Linked DNA regions of Homo sapiens: region 2 is linked to region 1. The links are contacts of gene promoters, found by promoter capture Hi-C in blood cells and fetal thymus (Javierre and others, 2016). All regions are on one chromosome and are shown on one strand. The core of a region is centred on a gene start or on the middle of the fragment in contact, and the rest is flanking DNA. Distances in the headings are between cores, read along the strand shown. Region 1 holds the start of LINC03033 (long intergenic non-protein coding RNA 3033). Region 2 overlaps LOC101927702 (a long non-coding RNA gene).

What was found. The method cuts DNA at HindIII sites, captures the fragments that hold promoters and counts their contacts. A CHiCAGO score of 5 or more calls a contact.
Region 2: a fragment that was not itself captured here is called in contact with the fragment with the promoter of LINC03033 in region 1 in 1 of 17 cell types (neutrophils); the score reaches 5.4 in neutrophils.

Annotation. Positions count from the first base shown.
Region 1 is chr14:61,568,072-61,575,089 of GRCh38, reverse strand. It overlaps LINC03033 (long intergenic non-protein coding RNA 3033), which reads right to left and starts at 4,550. Exons shown (of 3, transcript NR_039985.1): 1 at 4,330-4,550. LINC01303 (long intergenic non-protein coding RNA 1303) reads left to right here and starts at 4,437. Exons shown (of 5, transcript NR_110416.1): 1 at 4,437-4,604; 2 at 5,413-5,546. RefSeq lists silencers at 5,260-5,452, 6,193-6,352, 6,433-6,502 and enhancers at 5,844-6,343, 6,344-6,845. The HindIII fragment of the contact is 753 bases long and covers 4,131-4,883 here.
Region 2 is chr14:60,237,453-60,244,470 of GRCh38, reverse strand. It overlaps LOC101927702 (a long non-coding RNA gene), which reads left to right. Exons shown (of 3, transcript NR_188027.1): 2 at 1,601-1,708; 3 at 4,017-4,345. Among named protein-coding and RNA genes, the nearest start is that of PPM1A, 8.3 kb to the left of the region's middle. The HindIII fragment of the contact is 370 bases long and covers 2,773-3,142 here.

The DNA.
Region 1 (7,018 bases), core at 3,301-5,800:
GGATTTGAATGTTTTCACCACAAGGAACTGATAAGTATGTGAGGTGATGGATATGTTAAGAGCCTGATATGATCATTTCATAATATATACATGGATCCAAACATCACATTGTATGCTATAAATATATACAATGATTATTTGTCATTTTAAGATAAAAAAATTTGAAAAATTACAGAAAGATGGTAACAGGTATCACGGAATTGCTTCTGACGTGTGTGTTCTTCAGAACTGTTTATAGAACATTTATATCCAAATACAGATTTGAATTTGGTGGGTAAGTTCTAGCACCATAATTTACACAATCTCTGGAACCTATTTGCTGGTTGAAACTGCGCTTTTTTATGAAAAATTTTAAGGCCGTTTATTTCACCCCTGACGTAAGGCTGAGCAACGTTTTAAATGAAGAGTGGACTTTGAAAGAAACATTCGTGAGAGTGCCAAAGCGAGCTCCAGGAATGAGAGGACTAATTTGGCAGCTGTCAGGACAGATCAGCTCATAGAATGAGAAGTGGGTTGAAGGAGGAGCTCTGCCTGCAAGGACAAAGCTGGGCATGTAGGTCCGATTTTTCCAGCTGCCTCTCTTCTGGGGAGCCACCCCAAAAACCCTGTGTGCCTTGCCACCTCACCTGATGGAAGTAGAATGCTACCTCTGGCACAAGGGCCATTTCTATTTTCATGGCATTAGCGGGGCCTGAAACATCCATGCTCAGAAGCTGTCAAATAACACCAGTTTTTTTTCAGCAGCTTGTCTGAGCACTCCTGGAATTCCTTTAAAATACAGAAGGATGAGTAATCCTGGTTCTCATTTCTGCAGAGAGGGCTGGGAAAGGCCCAGGCACAACCTGCCAATGTTGCAAAATTCGTAAAGCAAATCAAGTGAACAAACCTCTCCTTTTCAGATCAAAACCTGTTAAGGATTGAGGTGTCTTTTTGGCAACCCAGGGGTTATTCATATGCCTGTTTCAACTGCTCCAGTAGCTTCAGGAAATAGCAAGGTGGAGCAGCCCACAAGAAAGCCAGCATCATCCTCAAAGGATGCTCACCGCTACGAAAGAAGCAACTTGGCTAAAAACGCTTTTCAAGTAAGGAATCATTTCCCCCTCAAAGAGAGTTTCTGATCACCCCAGAAAATGATCGTGGGAACTTCTGAGTCATAGAATAAACATGAATATCAAAGAATAAGTTTACATATTTTGGGAACATGGAACACTTTCTTTTTCTAAGCCTCTGACAGCATTCCTGAGAAGTGCATCTGCCTTGAGTTCAGGGAACTGAAAATCTGTCCTTGGTTTGGCAGCTGACTAGCTCATTGACCTTGGGTTAATCATTTAACTTGGGATCGGCAATTCATAGTCAAAACCATGATTATTGTGATCCAAGAGAAGTCAGCCTGCCTGGGCATGGGGACCCAAAGGTTATAATTTTAAGGATTTCTTCCTTGGGAGTGGAGGCAAAATGCTGATAGTAATAGAGTGGCCCAGATTCAAATGCCTGAACGGTGAGTTTTACCAGGGCCCCCACGCCATTCAGTAAGCTCTCTGGGATTTTCAGTGGGCCTGGGGAGGTATAACTCACTTTGGCTCAGAGCTCTGAAAGCAGAACTTGGGTGGTTTATTAGAATATACAATGGAAGAGTTGGATGAGACCTGAGTAATGATGTTTTTGTTCACCGCTTGTCTCATCAGAGCAATCTTCTGGACACATAAATTTAATGTTCTCATCCTCTGCTTAAAACAGCCTTCCACTGTTCCAAAATAAAAGCCAAAGTCTTCAAAACTGTGTGCACATGTGATCCAGCCCCTGCCTACCTCTTTATATCTTGGTTTTCCTCGTCCCCTTTAATCCAGCCACAAGGACTTTACTCCAGTTCCTCCAATGAACTAACTCTTTGTATCCTGGGCACTCTCTAACCCCTCTTCACTTTTTTTTTTTTTTTTTTTTGAGACAGAGTCTCACTCTGTCGCCTAGGCTGGAGTGCAGTGGTGCGATCTTGGCTCACCGAAACCTCCGCCTCCTGGGTTCAAGCAGTTCTCCTGCCTCAGCCTCCCAAGTAGCTGGGATTACAGGCACCCTGCCACCACACCCAGCTAATTTTTCTGTATTTTTAGTAGACATGATGTTTCACCATGTTGGCCAGGATGGTTTCGAACTCTTGACCTCAAGTGATCCATCTGCCTCGGCCTCCCAAAGTGCTAAGATTACAGGTGTGAGCCACTGCACCTGGCCCCCTCTGTACTTTTTAATTTTTATTCTTCTTTCAACGCTCAGCTCAAATGTCACTTCCCCTAAGAAGCGTTCCCTGAGGCTTCCCCTCCCCATACACGTTAGATCAGATAAAGCTCTTGTAATATTCTTGTAGAACATCCTATTCTTTTGCTTCAGGGCCTTTATCACAATTGATAATTATATACTTACTTTTACTTATTGAATTAATTCCCAGTCTCTCTCAGTAGATTACATGCAGTGTCTGTTTCACTTGCCATTGTATCTCTAATGCCTACTACAAGTGCCTGGCATGTAGCAGACACAACTGCTTGTGAATGAATGAATGGTCTCAGTGATTCTGTAAGGATGAAGGTGATGTAGAGTAGTAGATGGCAGCTCTACTCTGGAAGTCCAGAATACTGCTCTGATTCACACCTGCAAGCCTTATTGGTCAATGACTACTGATATTCCAGCCACCCAAACAACTGCTTTCGGAGAAGCATTAATACCTGCGAATAAAACAAATCTATTCGTTTCATACATTTGGTTCAGAACACTAGGAGAATTTGAGAAGAGACGAGCCAGCCCCAAGCTGTCCTTGTTTCTTTTATTAAGAATAGGCCATGATTTGAGCACATTCTACTACTTGCCTCACTTCAGCCTATTGATGGGGGAAAAGTGAGAGTCTGTGTGTGGGGACTCTGGCTTGGCAGTGAGATCTAACACAGAAAGATCCTGAAGAAATATGCTGACAATGGGGTTTTATCTCTTCAATGCACTGGAGACAAAATCCCTGCTTTTAAAAACAACACTCATACAGAGCCAAGGATGTCCCAGAGTGAACAGTCCTAACCCTTTCTCAGCCTGCCTAAGAGCTCGTTGGTTTCAGAAGGATGAGCCAAGGACTGCTACTTAGAGACTACTGTCTAGGTCAACCCAACTGGCATAAGTAAAGCACCTACTGTTTATAGTAGGAGGCTGCAAGATAACAGGAGATGCAGACTATTGAAGGCTACTGATCTATCTGTGTAGACAGGCAAGAATAAAACAACTGGAGAAGAAATCCAGGATTACACAAAAAGAAGAGCGTGATGGTATGGTAGACTACTCCAGAACAGTGAATTTCCCCTGCATTAAGGATGAGATCCCTATGAATTGGGATCATTCAGGAAGTCTTCTTGGAGAAGAAAAGTTTGAGCATATGGGGAAAAAAAGTTGGATTGGCAAAGAGCTGAGCTGTCAGTAGCTGGGTCCTTAGTAAGTAGGCTGCATGGAGCTGGGAGTTATGCTAAAGGAGTTGTAATTTGGGATGCCTCTAATTAACCATTTTGGGAAAAATATAATAAATCCCTTTGTAGCATCTATAATAAACTGCCCAATATCTATGTGGTGGGGAAAAAGTTTTATTCTACGTTTCACGTGGATGGTGATAACACTAGGTAATCTCAGCATCTTTCTTATTCTCTTGCTAATCCAGGATTCTAAGTAATAATCACTTTGTTCTACAACCTGAATCTAGCCCTTGTACTGTGCAGTTTTTTTCTACACTTATTTTTCCTGTTGTCTGAATCAATCTCCATGGAAGCATAAGTTTTACTGAGTTTCAACCAGCTGTGTCCACCGAGGTAAAGATGGTAAAAATAAAAGGCACAGGGCATATATACCACAGCAGCAGTTACTTCCCACAAGGAACCAGAGATTGGAAGTGAAGCTAAAACATTTTCAGCTACGATAGCATCTCTTTCAAGGTGAGCCATTTCCCCAGGGAGAGTTTCCAGCTCTTAGCAAAGGCAGAACAATAAAACATCAAGGATGTCTTTCTAAGGCTGCAAACAGAATAGCCAATACCTTGAAGCTGATCTGCTTCAGAGTCCTTTAAAAGCCAGGACAGCAACAAAGTGCCCACATTACATTTTCTACAAGCTTGCTAAGCATCTCTTTTCCTAAACCACAAAACCCGAGACATTTCTACAGAACAGGCAGAAAGGGAAGTCCTGGGAGATCAGGGCCCTGTCTCAGCAGGCATCACTCCAGCCTGTCTTTTCCCGAGTGGTTTTCTGCACTTCTCTTCCATCTTTTCCCCTCTGTCCCACACTGGAAGTCACTAGTCTGTGCCCTCCTTACCTCCCATGGTTTCTGCACCTTCATTTCCAAAGGCAAGTGAAAACAGTGCCAGGCTGCGCACATGGGTTACTCCAGGGACTTCTCTTCCCGTTTCCCCTAAAGCATTTGACAGTTAGATCTTGGAACTGAGTCCAGCAGCACTGAGGTCAGAGAGATGGCTAAAGCTAAAAGCAAACTGGATGCTGTTCAGGAGGTTCTCCTTTGTCATTTTTATCTCCAAATAGAAGACCTCTGTTTTCCCAGAAGATTAAATAGTAGAAAAGAAGTAGCCCAAGGTGGGTGACTCTGCAAACAGGTGGGTGAGGTCTCTAGTTGAGTGAGGGGGTGTCTGTGGGTTGTGGGTTCTTCTTATGAGCAGAGCTTGGAGGAATTTGTTCTATTTGTTGTGGTTTTCCCAGGGGGAAGTCGGGGGTGGCTGGGACTCTAATGATCATTATCAGAAGACTTTGGATTAGGCCTCTGAAACTTTAAGATGTGGATCCTCTCGCAATCATGTTAAAATGCAGATCTCCTTTCAATAGGTCTGGGACAGAGCCTGGCTTTTCTATAAAGCTTCTGGTGATGGGATGTCGCTGGTTCTCAGCCACAATTTGAGTAGCAAGAGGTTAGCTTTTCTACTTACTGCCTTCATATCCCCAGTTGGGCTATGTCGTTTTATCAAAACAATGTGGTAAGAGTGAGCGCCAATTACTAGCCTGTTGAATCATCCATTGTTAGAGCTGTTTCTTTGAGGTACATTTAAGAGGCCCCTCCCTGTGGTTCCCCATTGCACAAGAAGCCCATTTGCCAGGCAATACCTTGGGCAAGCAAGCCACTGTGCAAAATTGCATTGGCTCTTCCTGCTGCCAGCCAGGCGGCTGCTGGTTGACGTTGGAGTTGTACAGTTTATGTGATAGTGATGACAGCGCTGGCTCTGAAGGGTACTGAAGATTTTGAAGGGGTACTTCGCTGCAGCAGCTTCACCTCTCACTTTTGTTTACCCACCCCCGAGGCTTGTGGGAGAGAAGGATCAGGCAGAGCTCTGCACGTGCCATGCCAGGGGTGGAGGAATTATATTTTTATTTTTTGCTTTCTCTGCTACAGGACATACCATGCCTTTTACAGATATTTATAGGACAATTTCCCTCCTGAGAGTGCCCAAGCATGGGGGATGGTGAGGAAGATGACTGAAGGAGAAAGCAGGAAAAGGGGGTGTCTGCATGTATGAGGATTGGAAGGTGGGGAAAACCCTTCGTGTTTGGTTCAGCCTTCAAGAAAGAGGAGGGGTTGACTAGATTACAGATGTTAAACCAGGGGTCTGTGGTTCAAACCAGCAACTCTCTGCCCTTGTAAGCTGTATCTGGCTGGTGTGTTAATTTGTCTAGGGTAAGAGCCCCTAGGTTTCAACAGATTGTCCTAGAGTCAATGATACACAAAAGGTTAATCAGCCTCATTTCCAATCAGGATCATCTGCAAGTCCCTCCCAGAGCAGATATTTGGAGCACTAGGCTTCTAGAAGCAGCAGACATCAAGTTCGGGCCATGGGATTAGGGTGGACAGGGCAGCCACTTGGAATCATTTTCTACCAGAGGCAGAAGAGGCTCAGCTAGCAACAGCCCCATTTTACAGAGCAGAAGCCGAGCTGCAGTCAATTCAGTGATTCCTCCTAAAGTAGGGAGTCAGAAGCCGAGCCTGGACTGGAACCTCGGCCTCCTAGCACACAGAGCACAGGTCTACATTGGGGAAAAGCCCCTTCAATCTGGCAGTTGCCTGGAAAGCGCAAGACATTTGCGGCCAGAGCGCCAGGAGCCCAGCTGGTTATTTCTAGCTTCCTGAATGTCAAAAATACAGGCCGCTTCTCAAAGCAGCCTCCACTTGTCAGACCAAATCAAGGCATCAGCGCGTCAAGCAGGCGAATCCTCTGCCCCAGGCACCAGCCTGGGGGCGCACGCCCTGCCTCCGCCCCGCCCCACACGGCGCACCTGACCGGTTCCCGCGGTGCGCCTAACCGCGGGCGGGCGAGCGCTGCACCCACGCACCCGGGCGTCGCTCCCACCTGCACCCCGGCGTCACGCCTGAGCGCAATCTGCAGCCTTCACCCACCTGGGCGGCTGCCTGGCTTTGTTTAGAGTTGGAGTCAGCCCGGCAGCCTGCCTTGGCCGAGTGTGACTAGGGAGCTGGTCTCTGACCCTAGCGGCAGATTGGGCAGGACACACTGCCTTCTCTCTGGTCTCTTTTGGAATCTCCCACTTTCACCTGCTTTTCTTCTTAGCAAAACTGCCACCCCTGCCCCTACCCCAATTCCTCGATAGATCTAAATCAACGGGCTTGTTTGTGCCTCTGCAGAACCAATCCAGTTTTACAGGAACAAAAACAAACCCCAGTCCTGAGCGTCTGTTGGTTTCCCGTCCCAACTTCTGTTCATTCAACAAACATGGGAGCATCTACTGGCTAGGCTTTGGACACAACAGACTGAACTCTACCCCAGGGAACTGGCAGCCCCCAGGGGAAAAGAGAAGCGGATGTTTTTAGGCTGTAATTTAACGGTCGCAGGAGAGTTTGCTAGGGAACATGGGGGCAGGGAATGAGCATTGCAGGCAGAGAGGACAGGCTGGTGAAAGAACACCGCAGGCGGTAGGATCTGCAGGAAGGCAGGGTGGCCGGTGGGCACAGAGAGATGAGGGCAAGTAGCAGTGATGGGCTGAGGAGG
Region 2 (7,018 bases), core at 1,708-4,207, 1.3 Mb after region 1:
TTGTGCTAAGTAAAGACTAGCACAGATTTGAGTGGGCTTCTTCAGAACAATTCTTCTGGGTGTTTACTGTCTATCCTGGGCATTACAGAAGATCTCAAACTAAACCATACTTTTGAAAGCAGCGACACACTGCATCCTTAACAATGGTGGCCTGGTTGAAAACAGTAATGAAATTGTCATCATCATAAAGCCTTTTATCTGAACCTGACTCTGCAGTTTACAAAGCACTATCATACAGACTAACCAGTTTAATCCTCTCAAAAACCCTTGCAGGTAGACAGGGCAAGGACTCTTAATCTCCTCCTTTATAGAAGAGAAAACTAAGCATCTGGTAGTAACTACCCAGGGTCACAGAAATTAATGACGGGTACCCAGGTTTGTCCCCCGTACGATACTGAGCATCATTGCTTTTACATGCTGGTAGTAAAGGCAGCAGGAGTGGAAAGAGTGCTGAACTTAGTTCCAGTCCGTGGTGTGGAGAGCTGGCCTATACTGGCTCATGACAGCAGATTATTAAATTTTCAGAAATTTTGCCTGCTGTTTGTTAAATACTCATTATTAAAAATTAAATGATATAGGCTGGGTGCAGTGTCTCATGCCTATATTCCCAGCACTTTGGGAGGCTGAGGTGGGTGGATCACCTGAGATCAGGAGTTTGAGATCAGCCTGGCCAACATGGTGAAACCCCGTCTCTACTAAAAATACAAAAATTAGCCAGGTGTGGTGTCGGGAGCCTGTAATCCTAGCTACTTGGGAGGCTGAGGCAGGAGAATTGCTTGAACCCAGGAGGCAGAGGTTGCAGTGAGCTGAGATTGCGCCATTGCACTCCAGCCTGGGTGACAAGGTGAGACTCCATCTCAAAAATCAATCAATAAATAAATATAAAAATAGAAATAAAAATTAAGTTAGATAAACTTCCAATGAAATAAATTTTAAACAAAGGTAGTATGTGATAAAAACATCACTTCCAAATTATGTTAATACATTTTAATATTGTCTTTGTTCTTTAGGCAATTTACATGCATTGTGTCTGCATGGTGGAAATTCCCTATATGTAATTGTACATCTCTTCCCAATACCACATTTAGTGAGTTTTCTTTGGTAGCTTGATCAGCGGACACCACAGATGAGGGCTTCACTTATTGCTTTGCTGGTTGTGGGCTAGACCAGGGTTGTCCAATCTTTTGCTTCCCTCGGCCACATTGGCAGAAGAAAAATAGTCTTGGGCCACACATAAAATACGCTAACACTAATGATAGCTGATGAGCTAATACAAAACAAAACGAAACAAAATCACACACACACACAAAATCTCACATTTTAAGAAAGTTTACGAATTTGTGTTGGGCTGCATTCAAAGCCATCCTGGGCTGTATGCGGCCCACAGGCCCAGGGTTGGACAAGCTTGGTCTAGGCTTAAGTGACAGAGAAAATGTTTTATGCAGATTAAATGTAAAAGACATGTCGTGTCTATAACTGTTACATGGTGAATAGCATAAAAACATTCAATTTAGCAATGAAGTCACATCATTGACTAATAAGCTCTAACATACATTTTTGTTGTTTTATTTTTATCTTAAATGAAAATATTAACCAATAGCCATGTTGGAACTACATTTGGAAAGGTGGTTGTTAAACATTTCCCAGCACACACCTGGATCTGCATCTGCTGTGTCAATTGAACCACTCACTGGTTCTGTGACCTCAGGCAAGTCATTTAAATTATAAGCCTTGGTTTTATCCTCCACAGAATACTTCCTCCTAAAATGTGTTGTGAAAATTAGAATAGATGAAGGCACCCTTGAAAAGATGACTGATGCGGTTGGTTGCCCCACCACTTCCTACTACTTGGCAGAGCCTCCTCGTTGGCAGATCCTTCTCTCACTAGAGCATGTATATGGATGCATGCTCTCTCACCCTCCCTTGTAGCTTAGAGCAGAGCATACCAATCTATGTGCCAGCATACCCTGGTATGTCTCAGATGGGTCATAGATGTGATAAGGTATGGATCCCTTAAGCCCTTGGGACATTCAAGTGAGGCTGAGCTGCTGAAGCCCTGGGATGGTATGACTGGCCACAAGCAACATTACCCAGGTACCCCTCTGTGTCACAAAAACGTTATCTTTGTATTTGTGTCATGGTGTGAAAAAATTGAGAAGCACTGCCTGGGGACATAGTGAGGTAGCCCAATTCTGGATAAAGGAAATTGAGAAGTCTTGAGGGGGTAGAGAGGTTTTCTTCCCTAATAAGAAGAATCACAGGAGAGAAAATGCCTTCCTCAGCCATATGTTGTTATTTCTATATGTGAGCCTGGAATTTCAAGGTTATCTTGCAAAGAACCAAGGCAATGTAGAGAAAAGAATTGATAGCAAGTGGCTGGATCTTTCACATTGTAAAGCCATTGAGCCATCCGTGCAATTGCCCACCTTGGGAATTTATTTTTAAGAGTGATAATAAATGCTCCTCATTGTTTAAACTACTTTGATTTTTGTATTTGGTTATTCATAATTAAAAACACCCAAATACAGTAGAAGAACTGGTACATCCCTGACACCTAATGAGTGCTCAATATGGTTAGTTAATCACCAAATTAGATCCTTTGCCTTTAGAAAAGCTGCCATGGTCAAATGTGTGTTGATCTTATTTTTCGTAAATATTTAAGAAATTTGTTCAGTAACTAGCTTAACTTTTAATATTTATCTTGAGTCTCTTCTAAATATGTTTTTACTGTATAATAAAAGCAATAATTGAAAAATGACATCATTTTAAGCTTGAGAGCAACTAGATACAAAGATGTTGATATGCATTTTCTCTTCTTGAAGGATCTAGACAAACTGGAGCACCATTACATGAAAAAGGTTAAAGAATCAATGTTTTGCAAAATAGAACTGGAATTAATTCATGGGAATTACAGAGAAGATCATATTAGTTCAATATAAAAAGAGGGCCTAGAATGTGCCAAGCTCCATACAATGCCCCTCATGAGTGTTATTTAATTCTCACAACAACTTTGCAAAAAAGAAACTATTTTTTTTTCCATTTTACAAAGGAGGAAGCTAAGGCTGTGAAAAAGAGCTCTTTTGCAAGCCTAGGACCTGATTCCAAAATTCCCACTCTTTCTGTTGCAAATTCTGGCTAAGCTTTCCAGAGATGACTTGCTTTCCCCTTGAGGCCCTTTCAGTGCATTGTGCCATGGAAAACAAAAAGCCCAACAATGACATCTTTACCAAAGATGCCTTGGGGAGATGGGAGAAGAGTTACAATGCACATTACACAGCAAAATCTTTTTTAAGCTCCAAGTAAAATTGGTTTTTTCTTAGAGTTTTGCTTCCAGCAGTCACTTCCTCCATTCTCCTGCTCTCTCCACGTGAGGAAAACTTCTATCCTGCCTTCTCCTAATACACTTTCCTGTTTTTTTTTTCCTGCACATTTCTTAAAAATCCCACATAAGGCAAAAGCCAAGACAATATCCATCAACACCTCCACCCCCACCGCATGTCCATGGAGAGCTTCAAGTCATCCTGCCGCTGGTACAAACACGGCAGAGGCCTCTTTGTAAAGAAGTGGTAGGTAGAATTCAGGTTAGCACCAGAATCTGAAAACTCCAGCTCCTTTGACTGGGACCAGGCTGGTAATATAAATGTTAGATCAGGCTGGGTCTGACACAATGGGGATCAGTAGAGCATACTTGTCACATTTGAAGGCATTCAGAAAAATAATAACCTTAAAACATTCTAAACATGTTGCAATCAAAGAGGATACCCCTTGACCACTGCACGAATTGGAGTTCAAAGATCATCTCTCTTTTGCCTAGGCTGTAGACTAGTTATTTAACCTCTCTCAGACTTGGTTTCCTCTTCTGGAACAGGGTATATCAACTACCTTGCAGAAATAAATGACATCCTGTACACAATGCACCTACCACGTTGCCTGACCCAATAATGTGTACATACATAAGAAAATGTTCATGCCCTTTGCTCACTTTAAAATTTTTTTTTCTTGTATATTTGTTTAAGTTCTTCGTAGACTCTGGAATGGAGCTGGAAGCTGTCATCCTCAGCACACTAACGCAGGAACAGAAAACCAAGCACTGCATGTTCCCACTTATAAGTGAGAGCTGAACGAGCAGAACACATGGACATATGAAGGGGAACAACACACTCTGGGGCCTGTGAGGTGCAGGGAGAGCATCAAGAAGAACAGCTAATGGGTGCTGGGCTTAATACCTGGGTGATGGGTTGATCTGTGCGGCAAACCACCATGGCACACATTTACCTATGTAACAAACCTTGACATCCTGCACATGTACCCCGGAACTTAAAAATAAAAGTTGACAAAAAGAAAACATAACTTACTTTTAAGCACATAGTGTGTGTGTGTGTATATATATATGTATATATGTATATATAAGTATATATGTATATATGTATATATAAGTATATATGTATATATGTATATGTGTATATACATGTATATATATGTATACATATATGTGTGTATATATATATATATATTTAGATGGAGTCTCCCTCTGTCACCAGGCTGGAGTGCAGTGGCACGATTTCGGCTCACTGCAACCTCCACCTCTCGGGTTCAAGCGATTCTCCTGCCTCAGCCTCCCCAGTAGCTGGGATTACAGGCGCCCACCACCACGCCCCGGCTACTTTTTGTATTTTTTGTAGTAGAGACGGGGTTTCACTATGTTGGCCAGGATGGTCTCAATCTCCTGACCTCCACCCGCCTTGGCCTCCCAAAATGTTGGGATTACAGACGTGAGCCACTGCACCTGGCCCATGTATTTTTAATAATACATTGTAAATGATTTGACATTATCCATCCCATATTTTATATGGGCTTAGTTATAGATTCACTCTAGAATTGCTGGTTATAGGGCAAAAATCATTCTTTTCAAGACTTGTTTTAACTTCTAGTCCTTCAGCTTTGTGAATGGAACATGTACGTATGACCTACAAGGGATCAAGGGAAGACAAGGATCCTCTGCTGGAAAGATCTGCCTCCCTTACCATTGCTGGACCCCTTTTGTGTGAGTTTTCTCCTTCATGCCATCTGTACCAAAGGTGACCATTTGGTTCTGAATCCAAACTCTAGATTGTTCTTCTTATAGTGCTTCAAAAGAAAGACTGCAAGCCCTATTTCTATATTTTATATAGTATTTGTAATTTTATGTTATAGAACTTGAGTCACCATGTATTTCATTCATTCAGTAGATGTTGAGCCTCCGGAATATGCCAGGCACAGCTGTAGATGAGGGAGATACTGTGAAGAGAGGCAGCGTTCATGGTGTTTACCCGAGGTCAACAGAAAACAAACAAGGTCAATGCAGAGAGGGATAAGTACTGTAAAGAATGCAGAGCAGAGTATGACATGGGCAGGCAAGGTGACAGAGGGGCTGAAGGAGAGGTTACTTTAGATGCTCAGGGAAATCCTATGAGAGAAGGTGGCACCTGGGCAGACCTGACTGACAGGAAGAAGCCACCTTAGAAGATCTGGGGGAAGAATGTCCCAGGAAAGGGCAGAAGCCCTGGGGTGGAAGCGAGCTGGGCATGTCCATGGAAGACAATTCTGAGATGTCTCGGCATGCTGAGGGAAGGAGAGTATGATATAGGCAGGGTGCCTATAGGCCACAGTAAGGATTTTTAAGAATTTTATTCTAAGTGTGATGGAAAACCACTGGCGGTTTTTATGCAGAGTAATGACACGATCCGATCTATGTATTGCTCTTGCTGCACTTTAGAGAAGAGATTTTAGGAAAGCAAAAGTGGAGGCAGAAAAATCCTTTCATGTCAGTTTAATATATCCTTAAAGAGAAGGTGAAATTTGCTTTCAGCTTTAAATGACACAGAGAGATTACATTCTGGTGGTAGGAATGTGGTCTTTTACAGAGCTTTTGTTACCGGGGTTCATGTTTCCATTTTCTGGAAACTATTAATATATATGGATATTTTTGCCAGTAACTCAAGTAACCTTGCTTGGTAAATTTCATAAAATGTTGCAAGAAGTATCTTGTGGGAAGGCCAGGTTAAGTGTAGGTAAAATAAAAGCTCACTTAAGTGGTTCGATTTCAGGTCAATACTTGTTACCCCCAAAATAGTCTACAAGAACCTCTCAGTACTCTCCCAAACACATCTGAAGTCTGAAGACTAATATTCTATAAATTAATTTATGCCTTGTGCTATCCAGTGAGGATGATAATTAAGGTGGCTTTACCTAAGGCAGTTATTTTCATCTTGATATGAAAGTCTCAAGATCCTTTGCAGAGACAAGTTTTAATACTTGGGAAGCAAGCTGCTTTGACATGTATTGATGAGATAGGGTAAAATAAATTAAGAAAGGATTTAGTAAAGACCTCAATAATGCCAAGGATGAATTCAACTTCTTACATACTGTATTCAGATTTGTTCTTGCTCATGGACCTATGAAACAAATACATACACTTCATATGTTGAGTCTTTGTTGCTATTAGATCTTTTTTTTTTTTTTTTTGAGATGGAATCTTGCTGTTGTCAGCCTGGGCTGGAGTGGAATGGCATGATCTTGGCTCACTGCCACCTCTGCCTCCTGGGTTCCAGCGATTCTCCTGCTTCAGCCTCCAGAGTAGCTGAGATTATAGGCGCCCACCACCACGCCCTGCTAATTTTTTTGTATTTTTAGTAGAGACGTGGTTTCACCGTGTAGGCCATGCTGGCCTCGAACTCCTGACGTCAGGTGATCCACCCGCCTTGGTCTCCCAAAGTAGTGGGATTACAGGCATGAGCCACTGCTCCCAGCCTAGATTTTCTTTATTTCATTTAATGGTCTTAGTCTGGGTTCTCTAGAGGGACAGAACTAATGGAATAGATATACACATAAAGGGGAGTTTATTAAGTATTAACTCACATGATCACAAAGTCTCACAATAGGCCATCTGCAGGCTGAGGAGCAAGGAGAGCCAGTATGAGTTTCAAAACTGAAGAACTTGGAGTCTGATGTTTAAGGGCAGAAAGGATCCAGCATGGGA